Linked DNA regions of Homo sapiens: regions 2, 3, 4, 5, 6 and 7 are each linked to region 1. The links are contacts of gene promoters, found by promoter capture Hi-C in blood cells and fetal thymus (Javierre and others, 2016). All regions are on one chromosome and are shown on one strand. The core of a region is centred on a gene start or on the middle of the fragment in contact, and the rest is flanking DNA. Distances in the headings are between cores, read along the strand shown. Region 1 holds the start of STAMBP (STAM binding protein). Region 2 overlaps M1AP (meiosis 1 associated protein). Region 3 overlaps M1AP (meiosis 1 associated protein). Region 4 overlaps LOXL3 (lysyl oxidase like 3). Region 5 overlaps HTRA2 (HtrA serine peptidase 2). Region 6 has its middle 2.0 kb from the start of PCGF1. Region 7 overlaps TTC31 (tetratricopeptide repeat domain 31).

Region 1 (3,127 bases), core at 314-2,813:
CCACAGCACTGTAAAAGTGGGAACAGCATCTTTTATTTTCTATTATTTCTCCTTCCAGATACCCACATACCTCCACCCCAGTACCTGGCAGAGTGCACTCAGTGAACTTTCTTGAGGATTGTTAACTAACTTCAAGGTTGACCATTTTTACTTAATCTGAGAGTAACTGACATTTTCTGTGGTATCCTTTTTCATATTTGAGCACAAGGTGAGTTAGGGGAACTGGTCTGGGAATTAATGCTCATAATTGTAACTCTGCTCACTAAACCACTATAGTCAATCTATAAAATCATTCATTCATCATTATCATGGCAAGAGACTTAAATCTTGAAAACAACCATTTACTCATCTTCATAGACTAAACACTGAATAACAAAAAGGCACGATGGTAACTTGCATTGCAAAAACCCCTGGTGTCCCAAAACTCCAGTAATTCTAGTCTTTCTAGATATAGTTGCTGTTAGAATCAGATTCCAAATTCCAACCAGATATCACCACTATCATCTCCAAAATAAAACTGGGCATTTGACACACATTGCATTACAGCAAACCCTAATCAGTATGCTCTAGAATACACAAACTACAGTAGAATAAATCTTGGAATTCAAGGCCCTGTGGCAACTGGCCCTCCCCAACAGAGATCTTTTGCTTCAGTCAGGATTCCAATCCGCCCAGGCATCCTCACATTTCAGTTTCATTTATCTATCCAGTTTTTCTTTTCTACTACAACTCTTCCCTCAGGGGTAGTCTTCTCTCAGCCAATTCCATCTTTAGGTCTCTTCAATATTCGGGTCACAATTCCTCCACAAACCTTCCCCTCTAAAACACCCTCACTAATAGCACAAAAGCCGTGAGGACTACTAGGGATGCAGAGATAGTCCATCTCTCACGAGGCCTCCTTAGGGACTCAGAAAGCCGCAAGCATATCTAAAACCTCCCCAAGTAATTAGTAAACCTAGTCCACGGCCCATGAAAGTTAACTGAAACAGAGGATGCTTGTTGCATCTCAGTACCTCTTGGGAGAGGTTCTTGTGGGTTAAGAAAGGAACCACCTCCCAAGGCCAGGAAGCGGCGCCGGTTACCACCTGGTTGAGCAATTCCAAAAAGGGGATGCAGCATCTGCAAATGAGGGGGAAAGGCGGCGTAAAGGACCGAGGGGGAAATACGAGGAGGAGAAAGGAAGTAGCAGGAATGAGCGGAGGGGGCGTATACAGTAGGGAGGGCTCTATCGACAACTGCTTGAGGAACCCTTCTTGAAGGCACTCAAGACGAACTTGCCAACCCCAGGCACAATCATCCAGGGTTTTCGGGATCTTTCAAATGCAGTAGGCGGGGAACCGCTGGGCCTGGCTGGTCAGGCGCCAGCCCGCGGAGACAGAAGCCGTCGGGTGCCTCGAGCGAGGCAGGCCGGGCAGGGGACTCGGGGAGAGTAGGCTGCAGGCCCCACACTCACGGCGGCCGATCCCCTTCAAAGTCCAACCACGCTCGGAGGCCCTGCCCCACCACGTTCCCGGGACCCTTCCCCACCTTTCCCCGCGGATGACACCCGGAGGTTCCGGAAACGTCACATCCGGCGCCCGCTCCGCCCACTCCCGTTCGTCTGTCTATTACATTCCCAGTGATTTAGGACTTGGAACGGAGAGCTAGTAGGTGGGGCTAGAATCGGCACCTGCGGAAAATCCGACCAATGAGGAGCGAACGACACAGCGGCCATCTTGGTAAAGGAAAAGGAACAAGGAAGAAAGTGGAACCAATTAGCAAGCTAAGGTTTGCTTTTAAAATTATTTTGATTTGGGGTAGTCCCTCATCACACTCACAATACTCCTGCATTTAAGGAGGGATTGCTGATCCCAGCACAACTGCAGACTTAGCTAAACTAACCAGGATTTATAAATTGGGGGACAGAAAGTCTTTCGAATGTATTTTTTAGCTTGTATTACATTCTACACAAAAATTGGTAGTCTTAGATATTAGGCAATATCTAAGACTAATTTTATTGCTTAGAAAAGAACATAAGTCTAACTTTTTTTTTTTTTAAGACAGGGTCTTGCGGTGTCACCCAGGCTGTCACAGGAGTGCAGTGGTGTGATCATAGCTCACTGTGGTCTCCAACTTCAGGGCTCAAGCGATCTTCTTGCCTCTGCCTCCCAAAGTACTGGGATTACTGGCGTGTGCCACCGCACCCAGATGAGACTAACGTTTTAATGTCAAAAAACCTATAAAATATTTGGAAAAAAAGCGTTTAATCTCTAAGAGCCGCTATGCAAAAGCAGTGGAGACACAAAAATCTGTATGACACTGTTCCTGCCCTGAGACCGGGACAAGGTGGTTTTATGCATCAAATACAGAATGGCACGTTCTGCATGTAGATGTGTGTCTGTACGAATCCATATACATCCTCTTTACAAAAAGGTCCTACAAGCTTGCTAATCATTCTGTCTCAGAAGACTTTGTGAAACATTAGGCTTTGGTTTAAAAGTCTAAGTCTCTGGGGGACACTTTCCCAAAATTTGGGAGCCTCCCTGTGAGTTTGTTAGTGTGATGGCATGACCTATTCTTCAAGGTCTAGCTTAAATCCCTAATTCAGGTGTTGCCTCCTCCACCTAGCCAGCCTCCAGATCTCTCATTTCTCCCAACCTCCGTTGTGTATATTTCTGTTGGAGTTACCTGAAGTGATTTTGTGTAGTCATCAACTTTTCAGACTTAGGGTTGAAAGTACTTGCTTGCATCATATCACCTCCCCTTCTGCCCCCAGCAAGCATTAATGTGCATGGGTCTACTATCAACTCTCATGGATCTACTGCAGATAAATCTGGGAAGATAATTGTATAGGGCACTCTACTGTGTCTTCAAAACTCTCTCTACTGACTCTCTTCAGAATGTAAACATGATGGGTTGGGCCTAAAGAAATTGATGCACTGGAGATGCTGGTCATTGGGTGGGCATTATAGTGCAGATGGGGTCCTGGCAGGAGGCAACACAGGTCAAAATCTGATCCATTCAACCTCTCACTCAGTAAATGTTTACTGAGTGTCTACTATGTGCCAGGTTCTGTTCTAGGTGTTAGGGATACATCAGCAAACAAACCCAGCAGGTGGATACTCTAATGGTGGAAGCACAGGTAGAA
Region 2 (3,127 bases), core at 194-2,693, 760 kb before region 1:
AAGACCAAAAACACTAGAGAAAAATGGAAAAAAGTCATAAACACATAATTCAAAAAAAGATTTTTAAATGGTCCTTAAACATGTGAAAATATGTTCAACCTCACCCATAATTAGAGAAATGATAATTAAGACTATACCAAAATATTATTTCCTACCTATTATTAGATTGGCAAAAGTTAAAAAGTATGACACCAATAGAAGTGGCATGTGTTTATTTTTAAACACAAAATTACCTATGTGTTTTACTTCTATCCCTAGAAGTCACCAGCCCCACTTCTAGGAATCTAATACCCTGAAGATACACCCCCAGATCTACAAAAATGCATGTATATACACAGAGTCGGTTGCAAAGCTATTATACAGTCTATCTAGGATTTTTTTAAGAATATGTCTTAGGTCTGGGCTCAGTGACTTATGCCTGTAATCCCAGCACTTTGGGAGGCCGAGGTGGGTGGATCACTTAGGTCAGTAGTTCGAGACCAGCCTGGCCAACATAGTGAAACCCCTTCTCTACTGAAAAAAAATAAAATAAAATAAAATAAAAAGTTAGCCAGGCGTGGTGGTGGGCGCCTGTAATCCCAGCTACTCAGAAGGCTGAGGCAGGACAATCACTTGAACCTGGGAGATGTAGGTTGCAGTGAGTTGAGATCACACCACTGCACTCCATCCTAGAGGACAGAGTGAGACTCTGTCTCAAAAAAATAAAAGAGTATGTCTTAGGACTTTCTTTGATTTGAGCGTCTTCTTTAGCTTTTCCTTACTCTACTTAGCTCCCCCAAGTAAGTCTTTTCTTTCATGGCTCCACTTACATTTATTTTCACCTCAAGGCAGCTCTTTCTTTCAGTTCCCTTAGGTGTAAGGAGTCAAAACTGCTTGGTGTGGTTCTTGGGTCATGTCAAAAGATTTAACGCCTTCCTAACTCTGCTTTCTTCTTAATTCAAACTTCTCCTAAATAACCCATTCCCCTGCTCCCTCCCCCACCACAGTGCCTATGACAATATTTCTTCCCAGCTTTTCAATTTTGCATTGCAATTTACATTAAATGCTTTTTGGTTTATAGAATATATGTATTAGTCCCTGTAGAAAAAGAAGACTTTTAAAATACCTTCTAAGTCTAATGTTTCTCACGTCAAAAAATACTTCAGACTTTGGAATATTTCAATCAATAGTGATCAATCTCTTTTGCATATAAGCTGCATTTTTCCAATAAAATGAAAATGAAGCCATTGAGACCCATAGATAAAATATATTTTCTTACAACTTAGATCTTTATTGAAGAGAAAATTTTCAGCAAAAGAAATGGCACTGGCTTTTAGTGAATAAAATGTTCATATCTACTACATAGACAGCTGGGAGGCGGCTTTATACTCTATCATCCCTTATAGTTGCATGGTGCTTTAAAGTCCACAAATTGCTTTCAGGAGTCAAGTGTCATTATTTCATTTTCAAGTAAACCCTTAGCCTAGGTATCACTATCATTCCCACTTTACAAATGGAGAAATTGAGCTTAAAGAGATGAAGTGACTGGCCTAAGGTCACAGAGAAAGTAAGCACCAGGCTGGCTAGTTTCTTCTGTTCAATATAACGTTTACTGAGCCCCTGTTGTATGTAAACACTGCGCTAGTGCTGTGGGTACAGAGGTAGATAAGGTGCTACAACTGGTGCCAGAGGCAGGTATACCCTGCCTTAACCAGGGCCCTTCTCTCCCGTACCTGCAATAACTTCTCTCTGGACTGTCTAGGGCAGAGCAAGTCACTCAGTTCAAAGTGGGATTGGCAATCCGGGAACACTTCCGTGGCTCCAGAGGTGAGGGGTGCAGTGCAGCTTCTCTCATAGGGCAGTCCCCACTTCTGCCCTCTTAGAAACACACAAGCCTAAGAAAAAGATTATAAAAAGGCTACTCTCCCAGCCAAAATAATTGCTCTCTAAACTTTTTCTTACCCAATTCATCTGTTTACTAAAGGCTGAAATACTACATTTGAAATTGTAGTATTTGGGACCTATCTTAGAGCTAAGGGAGTCTGCTATGGTCTGAATGTTGTATCCCGCCCCCGCCCCCCCTAAAATTCATCTTTGAAATCTAATCACCAAATAGATAGTATTAGGAGGTGGGGCCTTTGAATGGTGGATTAGGTCATGAGGGAGGGCAGAATCCTCCTGAATGGGATTAGTGCTTTTATAAAATGTTCCCTAAGGAGCTTGTCTGCCCCCTCCACCATATGAGGATACAGTGAGAAGGGGCCATTTATCAACCAAAAACAGGTCCTCCCCAGACATTGAATCTGCCAGCACCTTGATCTTGGACTTCCCAGCCTCCAAAACGGTGAGAAATATATTTCTGTTGCTTATAAGCCACTGGTTTGTGGTATTTTGTGATAGCAGCCCAAATAGAACCCACTATTCCCTAGTCAGAAATTATGTAAATCAAGTTTGTCCAACCTGCTTCCCGCAGGCTGCATGCAGCCCAGGACGGCTTTGAATGCAACCCAACAAAAATTCGTAAACTTTCTTAAAACATTATAAGATTTGTTTTTAAGCTCATCAGCTATCATCAGTGTTGATGCATTTTATGTGTGGCCCAAGACAATTCTTCCAATGTGGCCCAGGGAAGCCAAAAGATTGGACACCCATAATATAAATCATCCATTGTGAACCATTAGTTCTTTAGTTAACAGTCAATTATTTTTTTCAGCCTGCCTTAGACTATATTAGCTTGATGAGGGCAGGTGAATGGACAACTGCTAACAATAGAATTCCCTGGGTAGCTGACCAGAGCTGGGAAAGAGGCATGTCCACTACAGGCTGAAGGATCTCTGCTTGAGCTCTGCTCATGGAACTCCCAGATTCCTCTTCCCTCCTTCCCCACTGCCTGCCAGCACCACACAACAGGAAAGCATAAGCGGTAAAGCTGGGCTGGGACATGTGGCACCTTACACAAGCTGATAGCTTGGGCACACCTTCAAACAAATATTTTTAAAATGCTAATTCAGTAGTTGTTTAGAAGCTAAGAGCTACAAAGAAAAAGAGAAAGAAAAAGGAACTTGCTTTACTCTGCCCCACTCTTGCACAGTTCCTGAGCAATACCAAATTGCAATAATGGAACCCACCCTTCTTCAAAGCAAGTGTA
Region 3 (3,127 bases), core at 418-2,917, 740 kb before region 1:
TGGGCACGGTGGCTCATACCTGTAATTCCAGCACTTTGGGAGGCCGAAGTGAGTGGATCACAAGGTCAGGTGTTCGAGACCAGCCTGGCCAACATGATGAAGCCCTGTCTCTACTAAAAATAAAATAAAATAAAAAATTAGCTGGGCGTGGTGGCAGATGCCTGTAATCCCAGCTACTTGGGAGGCTGAGGCAGGAGAATCGCTTGAACCTGGGAGGCGGAGGTTGCAGTGAGCCGAAATCGTGCCACTGCACTCCAGCCTGGGCAACAGTGTGAGACTCTGTCTCAAAAAAAAAATAGTAATAATAAGGATGGGAAAAAGTATTCCCTTCCATCCTGGCTTACATACACGAGATTAGAGTCTCCCTGCCACTAAACTCAGGGTTTGAGGATCTGTATTTATCTATCTGTCTATTTATTTATCAAATATTTACTCACCACTGTATGCCAAGCACTGTTGTAGAGATGAAGAGACCTTTTCTTTGTTAGTCTTCTGTCTTGGAAAAGGGCAGGGATGTAGTTGACCTGTCACTAGTAGATACCCATATTTTGGAGCATTTACTAAGTGGTAGTCACTTAACCAAGTGTTTTGCATACTTTACCTCATTTAATCCTCACAATAATCTGAAGTAGAGATTGTTATCCCAACTTTTGCAGATGGAGGAGGCTGAGGCCTAAAAAGACCAAGTAAGTTACCTAAGGTCACACAGCTACCAAAGTAGTCTTGTCAGAGTTTGAGGACCTAGCTCACACATGTAATCCCAACACTTTAGGAGGCCAAGGCAGAAGGATCACTTGTGCCCAGGAATTCAAGACTAGCCTGAGAAACAGAGTGAGACCCTGTCTCTATTAAAAATTAAGAAATTAGCCAGGAGCAATGACTCACACCTGTAGTCCCAGCTACTCGGGAGTCTGAGGTGGAAGGCTTGCCTGAGCCCAGGAGTTCAAGGCTGCAGTGACCCATGATCGCACCACTGCACTCTGGGCGACAGAGGGAGACACTGCTTAGGGGGGGTGGGAAAGAAAGAAAATTTAAAAAGAATTTGAACCTAGTTCTGTTGACTACAAAGCCCATGTTTTTAACTTCTTTGCTAAATTCCCTACTCTGGATGTAGCCAGATAAATACAGACTATAACACTGAAGCTAATTCTCCTTCACTTACACCCTATGCTTCTGTACTTCAGCGGAGTTGAACTCACTTAAAATGGCACAGTACTCATAACAACGGCTTACTCATCTTGTACTGCTGTTCTCTTTACTCCGTTTGGTCCACCTCATCTAGATTAAAGACCACTCTCCTATTCTGGAAAAGACAGCAGCAAAACAGTTTTCTTTCTTTTTTTTTTTTTTTTTGAGACGGAGTTTCGCTCTTGTTGCCCAGGCCTGGAGTGCAATGGCACAATCTTGGCTCATCACAACCTCCACCTCCTGGGTTCAAACAATTTTCCTGCCTCAGCCTCCCGAGTAGCTGGGATTACAGGCATGCACCACCACATCTGGCTAATTTTTTATTTTTAGTAGAGACGGGGTTTCTCCATGTTGGTCAGGCTGGTCGCAAACTCCCAACCTCAGTTGATCTGCCCACCTCAGCCTCCCAAAGTGTTGGGATTACAGGTGTGAGCCACCGTGCCTGGCCGCAAAACAGTGTTTAAATGCCTCTTCCTTCTTGTTTTTCACATGACATTTTCTCCAAGCAGCAAAAATCCTGAATGGCAGTATGTTATAGAGTACAAACTTTTCACAAACTTCAGCTCATTAATTCAACACAAATATTTTTAAGTGTGACGAGACTTATTTAGGGTTTTAACCTCCTAAGCCTATTTTTACAAGTTTGCCATGCTTCTTTAACTCCATCTTTGGTTTTTTATTCTTTCATATACCTTTTTCATATGTTCTTTTAAAATCTGATTTCAAGTCAGCTCCATATTTAACTCTCTTGCCTTCTGTTTTTCACTGTAATGTTCCCCTCCAGCCAACTTCTCATTCTAACTTCTGCCTTTCTGTTAATAGCAGCACCGCCATTGTCTAGTCACCCAGGCTTGAAACCTCAGTCACTTTCAGCCATCTCACCCTTTACACCTACTCCATCACTAAGTCATATCAATTTTCCACTCATAACATGAGTTGTAACTCTCCTTTACTTCCTGTTCCCACTGCTTGTCTCACCAAGACTTCTTCAGTAAACTCCTAACTGGCTTCCCTGCCTCCAATCTCTCTCTCTTCTGGTTTTCCCTGCACATTGGCACTAGCTTAATCTCCTTGAAGCATTCCCCTATCACATGTTTTTCTATGTATCAATACTCAATCACGTATTACACCTTGCCTATTCTATCCCTATAGCATCTGTTATCACTATCCTAATTCAAGCCCTTTTAACCTTTCCTTTAATACTGCAATAATCTCTCAACTTGTCTCAATGCTTTTTTAGTGCTTCCCATTCCTAGTCCATTTCACATAATGCCAACAGATTAATCTTTTGATTAATCTGATTCAGCACTGATTCTGCCACTACTCAGCTGAAAAATACTTTGTGGCTTACTATTGTTTATCCATAAAGTCCATATTCCTTAGCCTAATATTCAAGGTCCCACCTTATCTCCCATTATTCCCCTTCATGTACCATACACTCCAACCAAATTAATACAGAAACCTTAAATTTTTCCACCTTTGAGCCTTTGCTCATGTTGACCTTTCTCTCATCTCTGTGTGTTCAAATCCTACCCTATCCTGAAAGACCAAACTCAAATGGTACTTCTTGAATGGGAGCTCTCTAGTTTCTTCCACTTGTCATTAGACATTTGTATGCTGTTTCTTTTTGGAGAAAAACATATTTCAAATAGGTTTTTAAATATAGGATCCTATGTTTGAGATTAAAGTCTCAGATATAATTTGACTACCCAAACTCCAGATTGACATAGTGCCTTTTCTATCGCTTCCCCACTTTACTAACCAATTCCTAGGCTTTGGTCAAATTTAGGCCCAGAATAGAAATTCCCCCCTTTCTTACTTCTCTTTTTGGAGGAGTCAAGGCAAGGCAGTTTTCTAATATGTTGTAGTAAAATATAATTTGTGTTGTCCAGGAAAATCCTGGACTGTGGAATCAGACGGCCTTAGGTTCCTGACGCTT
Region 4 (3,127 bases), core at 360-2,859, 720 kb before region 1:
CAAGGTAGGGGGAGTCACGCTAACCGCAGAGGGAATGAGTAGGGGATGGAGAGGATGTGGAGGGACCAGGGAAAACGGGTGGTGTGGGATGGAGTCGAGGGGAAGCCACCCAACTGAGAGTTTGATTCTTGTCAAAGGGCAAGTGAGACAGAGTACACGGAGGAGGCACATACCGGAGGCGGGGGCTACGGGTGTTCGAACAGGGCCGCCAGGAGCGCCCTAAGGGAGGGGGCTCCTCCGGGAGGCGCTGCCCCTGGGTCCCCAACCCAGAACAAAGCTGCCTTGTTGGATTGATTGTTTGGGTTGGGGGAAGCATGTTGACGGGGGCTTGCTGTAGAGGGGCTGTTCTCAGCCCTAGGCAGAGAAGGCCTTGGCTGAGGAGCCATAGCGCCTGGCCTCCCGTTGCCCGGTGACAGGGATGGTGGTGTTGGCAGGAGGCTGGGACAACCCTACCCCATCCCCCGCCCAGCCTTGAGGCCTGGCCCTCCTGGGCCTCTTGACCCTGCAGGGCATCTGAGAGCCTGCGTGTTGGGGAGGGCGTGCAGCAGGTTCTCCAGGCGAGCTTTGGTGCCAGCCTTCCCTGCCTGGGAATCTGCTGGGTTAGGACTCTGGGCTCCCATTCAGGGGATCTGTGATCCCAGGGCCGCCTAGGGCCCCTTACGTGCCTCTCTGCACAATCAGTACAGCTGTCTGTCCTCCCTCTGAGTAAATGGGGTCATCTGGATCCCTCCCACGTCCGCCCCTTGGCTCTTGTCAATCCCTCTCCTTCTCACCCGCGGTGTGCTTGGTTCCCCTATACTGAGTGCTTAGTTCTTTGCCTATCACTTTCTATCCGTTGTCTCTCTCCTCTGTGTCTTTCTGGTTTTCTCTCTCTCATTCCCACAGTCTCCCTTCCTCTCACATCCTGTCTGTCTGGGTCTTCCTCTCTCTCTACGTGTCTCTTGCTCAGTCTCTATCTCTTTTTATTGACCCTTCTCTGACTCTCGATCTCTCATAGTTGTCTCTTATCTCTGGGTCTCTCAGGCTGTGCCTCTATGACCTGTGCCTCAGCCCTTATTTAATGTGTTTCTCTCCCTGTCTCTTGGTCCCTGGGGCTCTTTCTCTCCTGTTGTCTCTCGCTGTCTCTGTCTTACTCAGTGTCTGTTTTTCTTTCGTGACTTCTCCCTCTCTTTCTGACTCTGGGCCCCACTCAATCTGTTTCTCTCACGCACACTTTGTCTCTGGGGCACCCAGGCCTTCCCTGCCATGCGACCTGTCAGTGTCTGGCAGTGGAGCCCCTGGGGGCTGCTGCTGTGCCTGCTGTGCAGTTCGTGCTTGGGGTCTCCGTCCCCTTCCACGGGCCCTGAGAAGAAGGCCGGGAGCCAGGGGCTTCGGTTCCGGCTGGCTGGCTTCCCCAGGAAGCCCTACGAGGGCCGCGTGGAGATACAGCGAGCTGGTGAATGGGGCACCATCTGCGATGATGACTTCACGCTGCAGGCTGCCCACATCCTCTGCCGGGAGCTGGGCTTCACAGAGGCCACAGGCTGGACCCACAGTGCCAAATATGGCCCTGGAACAGGTGAGCAATGATCCAGGCATATCCTAGATATTTCCTATGTGTGGCCAAAGTGCAGGGAAAGGGAACACGAGGATGGCACAGCCATAGGGACACACGACACCAAGAACAGCCAGCATTGAGTAAATCCATGGATGACAAACCAAGCAACATAGTTACTTCCCAGAGCTGTGTGACCTTAGGCTAGTCAGTGCTTTCTCTGAGCCTCAGATGCCCTGTATGCAAAATGACTAGATGATGTCTAAGTTCTTTTCTGCTGCAAAAGTATGATCCTACAAAGCCATCCACAAAACAGCCCAGATACAGGTGAGCCCTGTACAAATAAAGTACAGTTAGTCTCATGGGACGCTAAGAGCAGGTAAATGATATCTGGATGTCCCAAAGTCACAAGGGGTCACAGACACTGCAGCTAACAAAATCAGGTTATGGGCCAGAGCTAAAACTAACAAGGTGGTACTGTCTAAGGACAAGTATAAAATCTAGGACAAGTATGAGTGTGGGTGGTGGAGGCTTAAGAGCAGTTCCCTAGGTGAGGCCTAGGACTGTGCCCATGGTATGAACCCACAGTGGGAATGATGGACAGAAGCAGGTGCAACCTGCAGCTGATTCCCCAGTTCCCACTGGCTAGACCACCTGTGGAATTAAGTGTCATTTGTAGATGCTGTGTTTTAAGAGGGACAGTAGAAAATGGAAATACTTTCAGAGGAGAGCTGCCTAGATGTGAAAGATTCAGAAGCCAAGTTTCAAGGAGGAATTGCTGAAGAATCAGGGGATTGATATGGAAAGTAAAAACCTTGCATAGCAATGGCGTAATGGTTGTTTTTAAATATGGGAAGGACAGTCGTGTGGCTGAAGGATTTTTCTGGTTGGCACCAAAGGAATGAATCAGATGTGGTAGGGGAAAGTCATGAAGAGTCACAAGGACTTTGATGGTTACACAGTCTGGTGGGGCAGGAGCTAGGTGTCTCCGCAACAACTGGGTAAGTCCTGTTGGGATGTGAATGAGATGTCCTTGAACATTGGCTAGGACAGATGACCTTTGAGGCTGCGCCCAATTCTGAGAGGAAGCCAGTGATACTCCACAGGGTTCAGGCCGGGCTCAGTGGCTCACGCCTATAATCCCAGCACTTTGGGAGGCTGAGGTGGGTGGATCACCTGAGGTCAGGAGTTCGAGACCAGCCTGGCCAACATGGTTGAAACCCTGTCTCTACTACAAATACAAAAATTAGCCAGGTATGGTGGCACATGCTTGTAGCCCCAGCTACTTGGGAGGCTAAGGCAGGAGAATTGCTTGAACCTGGGAGACAGAGGTTGCAGTGAGCTGAGATCATGCCACTGCATTTCAGCCTAGGCAACAGGGCAAGACTTCGTTTCAAAAAAAAAAAAAAAACAGGTTTCAGACAGAGAGAAGAACAAGGGGCTATATGGCAGCACAGACAGGGCGGGCACAAGAGAGAATGCAAGGATGTGAAGAAAGGATCTTAGACATCCAAGCCTCACAGATAGATCAAACTCCTAAGCCCCCACGTATTGGCTTTATGGTCTTAAGCAAGTTGCTCAGCTTCTCTAAAC
Region 5 (3,127 bases), core at 202-2,701, 700 kb before region 1:
TACCAACAATGCAATGAAATGTAACTGCAAATATGATGGACATAGAATCTGGGTGCACAACTGCCACATTGGTATTTGATGGGAAGAGCAACCCAGGAAGATTAGGGGATGGGAGGGAAAGACGTTCATTCTCTTTTCCATAGCTTGTTTCTCCATCTTCCCACCTTCCTGTAGAGCTCTCAGTCCCTCCACTTCTACCCACCCTTCTCCACAGTGCATCTATCTCCCTCCCTCTGTGCAGGGCGCCTCCCAAATTGCCTGTCCACTCTGCAGGTGATGCCTTCAGTGAAGAGGCCAACAGGAGGTTTGAACGCTACCCTGGCCAGACCAGCAACCAGATTATCTAAGTGCCACTGCCCTCTGCAAACCACCACTGGCCCCTAATGGCAGGGGTCTGAGGCTGCCATTACCTCAGGAGCTTACCAAGAAACCCATGTCAGCAACCGCACTCATCAGACCATGCACTATGGATGTGGAACTGTCAAGCAGAAGTTTTCACCCTCCTTCAGAGGCCAGCTGTCAGTATCTGTAGCCAAGCATGGGAATCTTTGCTCCCAGGCCCAGCACCGAGCAGAACAGACCAGAGCCCACCACACCACAAAGAGCAGCACCTGACTAACTGCCCACAAAAGATGGCAGCAGCTCATTTTCTTTAATAGGAGGTCAGGATGGTCAGCTCCAGTATCTCCCCTAAGTTTAGGGGGATACAGCTTTACCTCTAGCCTTTTGGTGGGGGAAAAGATCCAGCCCTCCCACCTCATTTTTTACTATAATATGTTGCTAGGTATAATTTTATTTTATATAAAAAGTGTTTCTGTGATTCTTCAGAGCCCAGGAGTCAGTGCTGGTGGTTGGAGGGACCTGCCCCCACTGGTTCATTTAACCCTCTGTCTCGGTGCCCTCAGAACCTCAGCCAGAAAGGCAAGGAGGAAATCAGAGCAGGAGCCTCATACTCTTGGTGATCTATTCATTCTGTGACCTCAGGGGTCACATATAAGGTCAGTGTTTCTCGTCCCCGCCGGATCTGCACTGCCAACTGGGATTGGGTTCGAACAGCTTCATAAACATCTTCAGCATTTTGTACCATCTGCTCCCCAATGGCCAAAATCACATCACCAGGCCGCAGACCAGCCCTATAGAGAAAAATGGACAGAGAGAAAGGAAGGAGTACAAAGCCTAGTTCAAGGACACATGCACACCTTGCCCATCCCCATATCACACTGCAGCCTCTCCCTCACCGGTGTGCAGGGGAGCCCAGGATGACTTTATGGATGAGTACACCATGCTGAACATCGGGAAAGCTTGGTTCTCGAAGCTGTAGTTCAGCAAGGATGCTGAAAGTACACAGATCACCCTATTAGCCAAACCCAGGCATTCTCCCCATCCTGAGTTCCACCTCAAGTCTCTCATCAACACATTGATAAATATATGGACAGGACATGGGCTAGGTACTACAAAATACAATGGCAACTCACTTTCTGTCTTCTAGCAATAAAGTGCAACATGTACATAAAAGATGTACACCACATGAGGGCACCAAATGACAAACAGTGTTAAATCAATAGCACTAATGTCATTCTAGAATACTAAGAGAAGCTTTAAGGGGAAAGAACTTAAGTTGAGCCTAAAAGGATGGATCTGATATTAACCATATAAAACAAGAACAGCATAAATAAAAAACATGGGAGTAGGAAATCAGGTTGGCTGAGTATTCATATAGGAAGGTATTACAGCCAGGTCTAGAAAGTTGATTTACAGACAGATGGAAAATGGCCCTTAAATGCCAAGTTAATGGATTGAAGGCTTGAAATCAAAGCAGTAACAGGATGAAATCAATCTGGTGACAGGTGTACAAAGTGGAGTGGGATAAGAAAGTCAAGATGATGAAGGGAGACAGCTCTTGTGATTATTTCAAGTGTGACACAGTTCATCTTAGATAAAGACAGAAATGAGAACAAAGCTCAATAGAGGTGCCCCCCTCTGATTACACTGGTCACATTACATGTCACTGTCCCTAAAGCTCATACCTGGGACTCAGGGTCAGCATCATCACCCCAATGTAGCGCCGCTGGGACCCACTGATTCCGGAGGAGGAATCTGTGACAGAGGGACAAATGAGCCCCACCCAGCTACATCCTTCCTTCCCTGCCCTCTTCTCCCAGTAGACCACCCTCCAGGAAGTCCCACTGAATGCCCTTCCCCTATTTCCACCACATTAAAGGAACCCGTTTCCCCATAAGGCAGGCTCACTCTTCTTTTCCCCACGATGCAGAAACTCTCGAAGACGATCAGAAGGGATGGCAAAGGAGATTCCAGCTGTGACCTTCATGGTGTTCACTCCAATCACCTCCCCATCCTGCAGGGATACAGCCCCCAGTTCCCTAGCCTAAACAAATAGTAGGGGATGGGGGCACCCGAACAAAAGTACCAGCAAGTGTTGGGGAGATCTGGTTGGATATTGAGAGATAGCCAACAAAGAACTGCTCAGAAACTTGACCAAACATCCTTGAATTAGGGGAAACCTACCCTTCCCACACTGACCTGGGGCAGGGATTCTTGGAAGGAAGGATGTCTCACTCACCAGGTTAACCAGGGGACCTCCAGAGTTTCCAAACTGTAGGACAAGGAGAAAACATGAAAGAGATCTGGGGATTCTAAGTCTGGGGGCATACCAGGATGTAGGTACTTTCTCCAAATTCTCTTCTTTCTCAGCCCATGAATAAGTGGCCACATTTTTGCAGCCTAAGCTCTATATAGGCTCATCCACCATATATCAGTTGGTGCTTGTACCACACAGCCTCTCCCCCCTCCCCCATCATTTGTCATTTCTCTCCTATCAGGACGCACATCAATAGCTGCATCAGTTTGAATGTATTCCACATTGGTTTGGGGGAGTCCCAGGTCTCTGGCTGGACGCTGAGCAGAGCTAACAATGCCGGATGTGATCGTGTTCTGCAGTGCAAAGGGACTTCCCATGGCAACAACAAACTCCCCTTGCCGGACATCAGCTGAGCGTCCCAGAGGCAGCGTGGGGAGAGGCTCCTAAGGGAGAATGGGTAAAAGAGACCTGTCATCTGAAGATGCGAGCAAATAAGCAGCTCCAACCAGACCTGGCCTACCCCAGCCC
Region 6 (3,127 bases), core at 167-2,666, 680 kb before region 1:
TCTTGCCTCCTTGTCTCTGATTCACGGGGAAAGGATGGTTCCTGCTGGTTTATATTCAAGATTGGCTAGGCGCGGTGGCTCATGCCTGTAATCCTAGCACTTTGGGAGGCCTAGGTGGGTGGATCACGAGGTCAGCAGATTGAGACCATCCTGGCTGACACGGTGAAACCCCGTGTCTACTAAAACTACAAAAAATTAGCCGGGCTTGGTGGCGGGCACCCGTAGTCCCAGCTACTCGGGATGCTGAGGCAGGAGAATGGCGTGAACCCGGGAGGCGGAGCTGGCAGTGAGCCGAGATCGCGCCACTGCACTCTAGCCTGGGTGACAAAGCGAGACTCCATCTCAAAAAAAAAAAAAAAAAAAAAAGACGAAGATAGAGGTGCTGGAATGAGTGCCCCCTCATACACACTGCTTTGGATCTGTCTCACCATGTCCTGTGTGTCCGTGGCTCTCATCAACTTAGTCTTTCCTACCCCTCAGCTGTCTCAGATCTTTATCATCTGGACAAAATCTTTGCCTGAGTCTTCAAGAGAGATCATGCTTTTCCTTTCCTTTTTACTTCATGCCTACTGCCTCCATTTCATCATGATTTATTCTTGTTTTAACTCAGTGCAAGCTGCCTTCATTATAGTAACCCTTTCTCAGAGAGCTCCAGTGTTCAGTATCCCTCCTCCAGGACTTCCCTGGCATGTTTTACTTTGTTGGTCATCAATTATTTTTTGAAGTGTCCCTTCTTTTTGCTTCTGTAATATCTTATTCCACATCTTTGGACTTTCGTAGTCACTGCTTATGTTTTTCCTCCACTGATTTTCCTTCTTCCACTGAAGACTGTGAGGATTCTTCAGAGCTCAGACTTAAGCTTTCTTTTTTCTTTTCTTTTTTTTTTTTTTTTAAGACATGGGATCTCACTCTGTCGCTCAGGCTGGAGTGCAGTAGCATTATCACGGTTCACTGCTGCCTCAACCTCCCAGGCTCGAGCAATCTTCCTAACTCAGCCTCCCAAGTAGCTGGGACTACAGGTATGCGCCACCATGCCAGGCTAATTTTTGTACTTTTTGTAGTGACGGAGTCCCACCATGTTGCCCAGGCTGGTCTCCAACTCCTGGGCTCAAGTATCCACCTGCCTCAGCCTCCCAAAGTGCTGGAATTACAGGCATTAGCCACTGCACCAGGCCTTAAGCTTTCTTTATCTCTTCATCTGCTCAAGTTTCACCCATTCCAAAAGTCCCAACTCTCATATCCAGCCAGATAACTCTGAGACCTCCATCCCTTGTTCTGACACTCCAGCCCCACCGCTCACTCTCCTAGCCTTCTGACAAGCTCCCCCTGCTTCCCTGCAGCCACCTTAAGTCCAGCAGGCTGGAGGACATGCTTCCCTCCAAAGCTCTTCATTCACCCTCTTACCCAGGCCTACCAAGCCAGGTTCCTGGCTACTTCCTCCTATTATACTTTCCTTTGAACTGTTTCAGATACAGCCCTTCCTTTCCATTGCCATTGCTAAAACCCTAATCGAGGCTGTCATCACCACCACTTGGATTCATTCATGTATTCATCCAGAAAAGTTTTATTGAACACCAACTATGCACCTGGCACTGGAGCTATATCTGTGAACACAACAGAGGAAAAAAAATCCTTGCCACTGAGAAGCTTATAGTCTAGTGGAAAAGGCAGATGAAAAACTAGGAAATATGTTTTCTAGAAAATATTTTCTGAAAATAACTAGAAAATATAATATATATTAGAAATGTATATTAAATAATAATAAATGATAGAATGCTAATAAGTGCTAACCAGAAAAAAAAGAGCAAGGAAGTGAAAGGGTGGGTGAGTTGTTATTCATCTAGAGTGATTACAGCAGCCTCATGAGTAAAGACCTGAAAGAAGGAGGGAGCCATTTTGGATACCTAAGCATTTCAAGTTGGGGACACAGTGGAAGGATATCCTGGTGTATCTGAAGAGACTATGCAGGCCCTTGCACACCACTCTGAGACTTTGACTTTCATTCTGATTGAAAAGGGAAGCTCTCAACAGGTTTTAAACGTAAAAAAGGAACAACCTAATTTTTCAACTTTATTTTTAATAGCTTTCTTGAAGTATAATGGACATATAAACTGCAAATATTTGAAGTGTACAATTTGATAAGTTTTGACATATGTATATACCCATGATACCATCATCACCATAAAAATAATAAACATATCCACATCTCAAAAATTGTCCTTTGTCCTTTGTGTTTCATGTTTTATCAGAATCACTAGCTCTGAGAAACAGCACTCAACTGTGATGTTGAGAACAGGCGAAGGGGGACTCAAGGAAAACAGTCAAGAGGCCACTACAGAGGACAGATGATAGTGGCTCGGACCAGGGAAGTAGGTAAACAGGGGCTGTAACGAATAATTGATTAATCACTAATCTCATAACTTCTTGCTGCATATTCACTTCAATTCACTCTGAAGAGAAATGAACAAAAATGTCGCTTTCACAGGATAACCTCCCTTCAAAAAAGTCCGCTAGCTCCCAATTGCCCTCAGGCTAAAAATCGCAACTCTTTATGGCCCTGCTTTTTCTATTACCACTCTCAAATCTACATCTTGACCTTCCTGTCCTCTGGTCATTCCCCTCCACGTCCTTTCTATTTCACCACACTTCCACCCCCTCCCCCAAGTCTAAATTGTGCCCAAAGTCCCACTTTCTCCAGAAAGCCTTTTTTGAGGTCTCCATTGGAATCTCTCCCTTCTCGTATCTCCAGTTGCATTTGATGTTAATACCTCATAGCAAATTTATCCCTTTTTAAGTACCCAGAGCCGGCGGTGTAGAGCTCTCGAGCGAGCACCCCGCGTAGTCCCCAAGTGCGGGACTGGGCCTATGCTACTACAGGCGCTCGCTGCCTAAGCCTGTCTGTGTGTGGCAGTGTCCTAGTCGTCCTCCCCTCCTCCTTCGGCATCTGCTCTGCATTAGTCTGTCCCAGGCCTCCGCAGGCGCCGATGATTAAATCATCATCATTAACCAGGGCCTGCCCCCCCCATCCCCGGCAGCAGGGGGGAGAATGGGGGAATAAGATCACTACCAAGTCCCTGGGGGTCTCTCACTCCCCATCCCCCGGCACCCTCTCCGAGACTCTGCAAAG
Region 7 (3,127 bases), core at 320-2,819, 660 kb before region 1:
AGAGAAAGGATCTCACTTGCCAGTTCCTGGCTCTGTTGTAAGGCAGCTGCCAGCAGTCCCGGAGATGCCTGGGGATAGGGTGCAAAGTCAAGCAGGTCTTGAGGTCTCAGCCTCCCCAAATCCTTCTCCTTTGTTTAAACAGGTAACACTGCAATTAGCATTACCCAACTCATGTAATCCTCATGACAGCCCTACAAGATGGTATCAGCCCTATCTTCCTAGACAGGAAACCACCCGGGGTCATGGTGACAGTGATGGGGCCTGACTGTAGGTCTCTTGACCCTAGAGCCAGAGAACTCCCACTGGACCCTGTGTCAATCCTTAGACCCTGTGCCTCCCCAGCAGCTCCTTGTGCCCCTTCCACGGTTCCAGCTGAATAAGGTTCTTCAGCCACCTCACCTGTACCTTTGGACTCTGCTGGGGCCTCTCCTCTCTTGGAGGGCTCTCTTCCTCTTGACCCATCTTCTGGAGGGCCAGACCCCTGCCTTGGGGCTCCTGGTTCAGTCCCTTCTCTCTGCGGGCACTGAGGGGCCAATCCCCAACCTTGCGCAAAGCCAGAGACACAAAAGTGCTAGATAGATCCAGTGAGTCCTGTGAACAAAATGGAAAGTTAGGGAGGGGGTGGGGATGAAGTACATTCTGGAGGAGGAGGAGGAAAATGAGCAGAGACCAAGAAGGGAAAAAAGGGGCTCTCACCTCTTCTTCACCACACTGTCCCTGAACTGGGTTTCCAGGGCTGGATGGGGGGCTCTCATCTCCATCTGAGGTAGTGCTGGCCTGGAAGAAAGATAGACAGGTACAGAGTTGGGATCACCTTGAGCTGCCTGCTTTCTTGGCCCTCACCTTCCTGGCACTTGGTGCTCTTAGTACCTGCCCTAGATACTCACCTTGGGCTCCCCACAGTACTGCTCCAAACGCTCCTGTCGCTTCCGTTCCTTTTGACGCTGCAATAGTAATGGTAACAATGATGTATTTTGAACACTTACTGTATGTCGTGTGCTGGGCTAAGATTTCGCATTCCATCTTTGCAGCTCTATGAGACAGGCATCATTATTATCCTCATTTTGCAGGTGAAAAAGCAGACAAGAGAGGCACCAGCAAGAGGCCTCATGTAAGGAGGCAGATTCCTACCTAGGCAGCACAGTAGGATTCCAGAACCACTGCACCAGATGGCCTGTGAGAGACCCCCCAGTCCCTGGGCCCCTTGTGTCCTCCTGGCAAGAGAGTCCACTGCAGGCCATCTTGAGCTCTCTCCTGTTCCCACAAAGTTTCCTCTTTCCCTCTCCCAAATCCCTTTGGCTCCCCTGCACCCTCCAGCCATGCTCTAGCCACCTTCTTCTTGAGTCGCTTTTTCTCTGCTTTCTGTTTCATGCGCTCCTCCTCAGCCACCAGCTCCTCAGCCAGGCGATTGGCTTCCTGAAGGACGAAGGGCAGGTGACAGAAAAAGAGAGAAACAGGGAAATGGAGAGCAAACATGAAAGGGGGCAGGCAGTATAGAAGGATCTTGAAAGGTACCAATTAGGGGAGAATATAGGGATGGGGATACAGGGATTGAAAGAACCCTGGGGGACGGCAAAGCCCTCTCCTGAGAATCTCACCTCTTCTGTCACCAGGAGCTTCTGGGGCATGGCCACCTGAAGCAGGCTGTCTGAGACACTGGGGAAGGTGGCAGAGGCAGAGGGGCTTTGAGGGCAGGGCTCAGACTCTTGGGGAGGATACAGGAAGGACTTGCGGAGACCACAGTAGGTGCCCAGTCCCTCAGCCCCCTTGCCCCTGTCACTCTGTCCAGTTGATTTCCCTTCATCATCCAAGTGGCCCAGGAGGTAATCTGTCAGGAGGGAGAAAGAGACAGGAAAGAAAGGACATGAGAGCGGGGTGCATCTGAGGGTCAGCCCTCCCAGGGTACCAGCCTCGATCCCTGGGCCCGGTCCCTGCACTCCCCACCATGGTGCCACAGCTGCAGCCGCCCGCTGCTCCCATCCACATGGATCCGGTGCAGGCCCTGGGGATCACTCTCCACAAGCCGTCGAAGAAAATCCACTATGTCCTGGGAGGGGAGGGGAGGGGAGGGGAGGCTGGTGTTGGGGGCAGTTCCTGGAGAGAGCAAGGGCTTCGCTGGCTTGATCTCTCCACCATGGCAGCCACCAACCAGCTATCCAGCCCAGAGACTCTCACTGGCTCTGACCTCTCCCTCCTCAGCACCGCAAAATCTGCTGCCCCCAGCTATTGTAGTGAATCACCTCCCCTCGCTGCTTTCCTGCCTTCCCAAGGGTTGAGTATGGTATTCAACCTGGCCTCCTCTACCATCCAGGATCTTCTCTCCTCAACCTGAGTTAGCCACACTGAGGCCCCTGGAATGAAGCCCTCCCACCTGCTCTTCCAGCTAGGCCCCCTGTCATATCTGCAGTATGAACAGCTCCACATAACCCACCCTGAGGCTAGCTCACACCTAAACAAGTACAGCAGCTCCTGGCTGGCCGCTCCTCTGCACCTCATCTGTTTCTCCACAAAACTAAGCTCTAAGAAATTACTTCCCTACTCAGGGACATCCAATAATCCCCCACTGCCAAGGCCATAGGCAGAGTTGAACCTAATTCCTCAGCCTACGATTCAGAGCCTTCCAAAAGGCTCCCAGGCTGACCTTTCCAGCCCTCCTTTTAATCCTCCCCTGCTTCACTGCTGTCCTCCCTCCCACCACCAGGCTCCCTCCAGCCTTGGGGCCTTCCCCCAGCTGCTCTCCAATCCCTCCTAACTCTTGAGCTTCTTTCTCACATCTTGCCTCACCTTCAAGGTCCAGTTCAAATTCTATCTCCCTTCAAAGCCTTCCCAGACCCTTTCATCTCCAATTATCTCTGCCTCCTCCAACTAACCTGCAACCACATTATCTGTGTTACACAATTTAGAAACTTGTTATTGATTGCTTTCTATTGCTCTCCTCATTGGCCAGGCAGCATGGAATTCCAAAGGGCATTGTGCTGGAGTGGAGCCACTTGCATCTGAGGTTATTTTTTCTTTTGAGGTGGATTCTTGCTCTGTCACCCAGGCTGGAGTGCAGTGGTATGATCTCAACTCACTGCAACCTCTGCCTCCCGTGTTCAAGCGATTCTCCTGCCTCACCCTCCCAAGT

The links. Contacts are between HindIII fragments. The CHiCAGO score rates a contact against its expected background, and 5 or more counts as called.
Region 2: a fragment that was not itself captured here is called in contact with the fragment with the promoter of STAMBP in region 1 in 1 of 17 cell types (naive B cells); the score reaches 6.1 in naive B cells.
Region 3: a contact is called between a fragment that was not itself captured here and the fragment with the promoter of STAMBP in region 1, in 2 of 17 cell types (non-activated CD4 T cells and total B cells). The highest score is 5.5, in non-activated CD4 T cells.
Region 4: a fragment that was not itself captured here is called in contact with the fragment with the promoter of STAMBP in region 1 in 1 of 17 cell types (fetal thymus); the score reaches 7.5 in fetal thymus.
Region 5: a contact is called between a fragment that was not itself captured here and the fragment with the promoter of STAMBP in region 1, in 10 of 17 cell types (fetal thymus, non-activated CD4 T cells, naive CD8 T cells and 7 more). The highest score is 21.1, in fetal thymus.
Region 6: a fragment that was not itself captured here is called in contact with the fragment with the promoter of STAMBP in region 1 in 5 of 17 cell types (fetal thymus, naive CD8 T cells, total CD4 T cells and 2 more); the score reaches 9.2 in fetal thymus.
Region 7: a contact is called between a fragment that was not itself captured here and the fragment with the promoter of STAMBP in region 1, in 2 of 17 cell types (non-activated CD4 T cells and total CD8 T cells). The highest score is 6.1, in non-activated CD4 T cells.

What each region holds. Positions count from the first base shown.
Region 1 is chr2:73,827,397-73,830,523 of GRCh38, reverse strand. It overlaps STAMBP (STAM binding protein), which reads right to left and starts at 1,563. Exons shown (of 10, transcript NM_213622.4): 1 at 1,014-1,563. It overlaps LOC105374807 (a long non-coding RNA gene), which reads left to right and starts at 126. Exons shown (of 3, transcript XR_940246.3): 1 at 126-208; 2 at 1,620-1,767. RefSeq lists an enhancer at 1-66 and a silencer at 1,574-1,792. The HindIII fragment of the contact is 5,447 bases long and covers 1-2,424 here.
Region 2 is chr2:74,589,372-74,592,498 of GRCh38, reverse strand. All of the region lies in intron 4 of M1AP (meiosis 1 associated protein), which reads left to right. Among named protein-coding and RNA genes, the nearest start is that of DOK1, 36 kb to the right of the region's middle. The HindIII fragment of the contact is 4,982 bases long and covers 1-3,127 here.
Region 3 is chr2:74,570,224-74,573,350 of GRCh38, reverse strand. All of the region lies in intron 7 of M1AP (meiosis 1 associated protein), which reads left to right. Among named protein-coding and RNA genes, the nearest start is that of DOK1, 17 kb to the right of the region's middle. RefSeq lists enhancers at 898-1,107, 2,105-2,204. The HindIII fragment of the contact is 5,991 bases long and covers 1-3,127 here.
Region 4 is chr2:74,550,753-74,553,879 of GRCh38, reverse strand. LOXL3 (lysyl oxidase like 3) reads left to right here. Exons shown (of 14, transcript NM_032603.5): 1 at 1-4; 2 at 1,234-1,558. The coding sequence starts at 1,246. It also overlaps a transcript of DOK1 not described here. Among named protein-coding and RNA genes, the nearest start is that of LOXL3, 1.6 kb to the left of the region's middle. RefSeq lists an enhancer at 544-838 and silencers at 544-838, 824-1,118. The HindIII fragment of the contact is 3,787 bases long and covers 1-3,127 here.
Region 5 is chr2:74,530,826-74,533,952 of GRCh38, reverse strand. HTRA2 (HtrA serine peptidase 2) reads right to left here. Exons shown (of 8, transcript NM_013247.5): 3 at 2,848-3,042; 4 at 2,582-2,614; 5 at 2,251-2,356; 6 at 2,028-2,097; 7 at 1,239-1,334; 8 at 634-1,133. The coding sequence ends at 968. It overlaps LOXL3 (lysyl oxidase like 3), which reads left to right. Exons shown (of 14, transcript NM_032603.5): 13 at 1-71; 14 at 274-1,695. The coding sequence ends at 347. Among named protein-coding and RNA genes, the nearest start is that of HTRA2, 2.5 kb to the right of the region's middle. RefSeq lists an enhancer at 2,914-3,123. The HindIII fragment of the contact is 295 bases long and covers 1,304-1,598 here.
Region 6 is chr2:74,508,163-74,511,289 of GRCh38, reverse strand. No RefSeq gene overlaps it. Among named protein-coding and RNA genes, the nearest start is that of PCGF1, 2.0 kb to the right of the region's middle. RefSeq lists an enhancer at 2,786-2,845. The HindIII fragment of the contact is 467 bases long and covers 1,183-1,649 here.
Region 7 is chr2:74,488,945-74,492,071 of GRCh38, reverse strand. TTC31 (tetratricopeptide repeat domain 31) reads right to left here. Exons shown (of 13, transcript NM_022492.6): 3 at 1,945-2,047; 4 at 1,599-1,828; 5 at 1,333-1,416; 6 at 888-944; 7 at 697-777; 8 at 400-591; 9 at 17-68. Among named protein-coding and RNA genes, the nearest start is that of TTC31, 7.4 kb to the right of the region's middle. The HindIII fragment of the contact is 4,043 bases long and covers 1-3,127 here.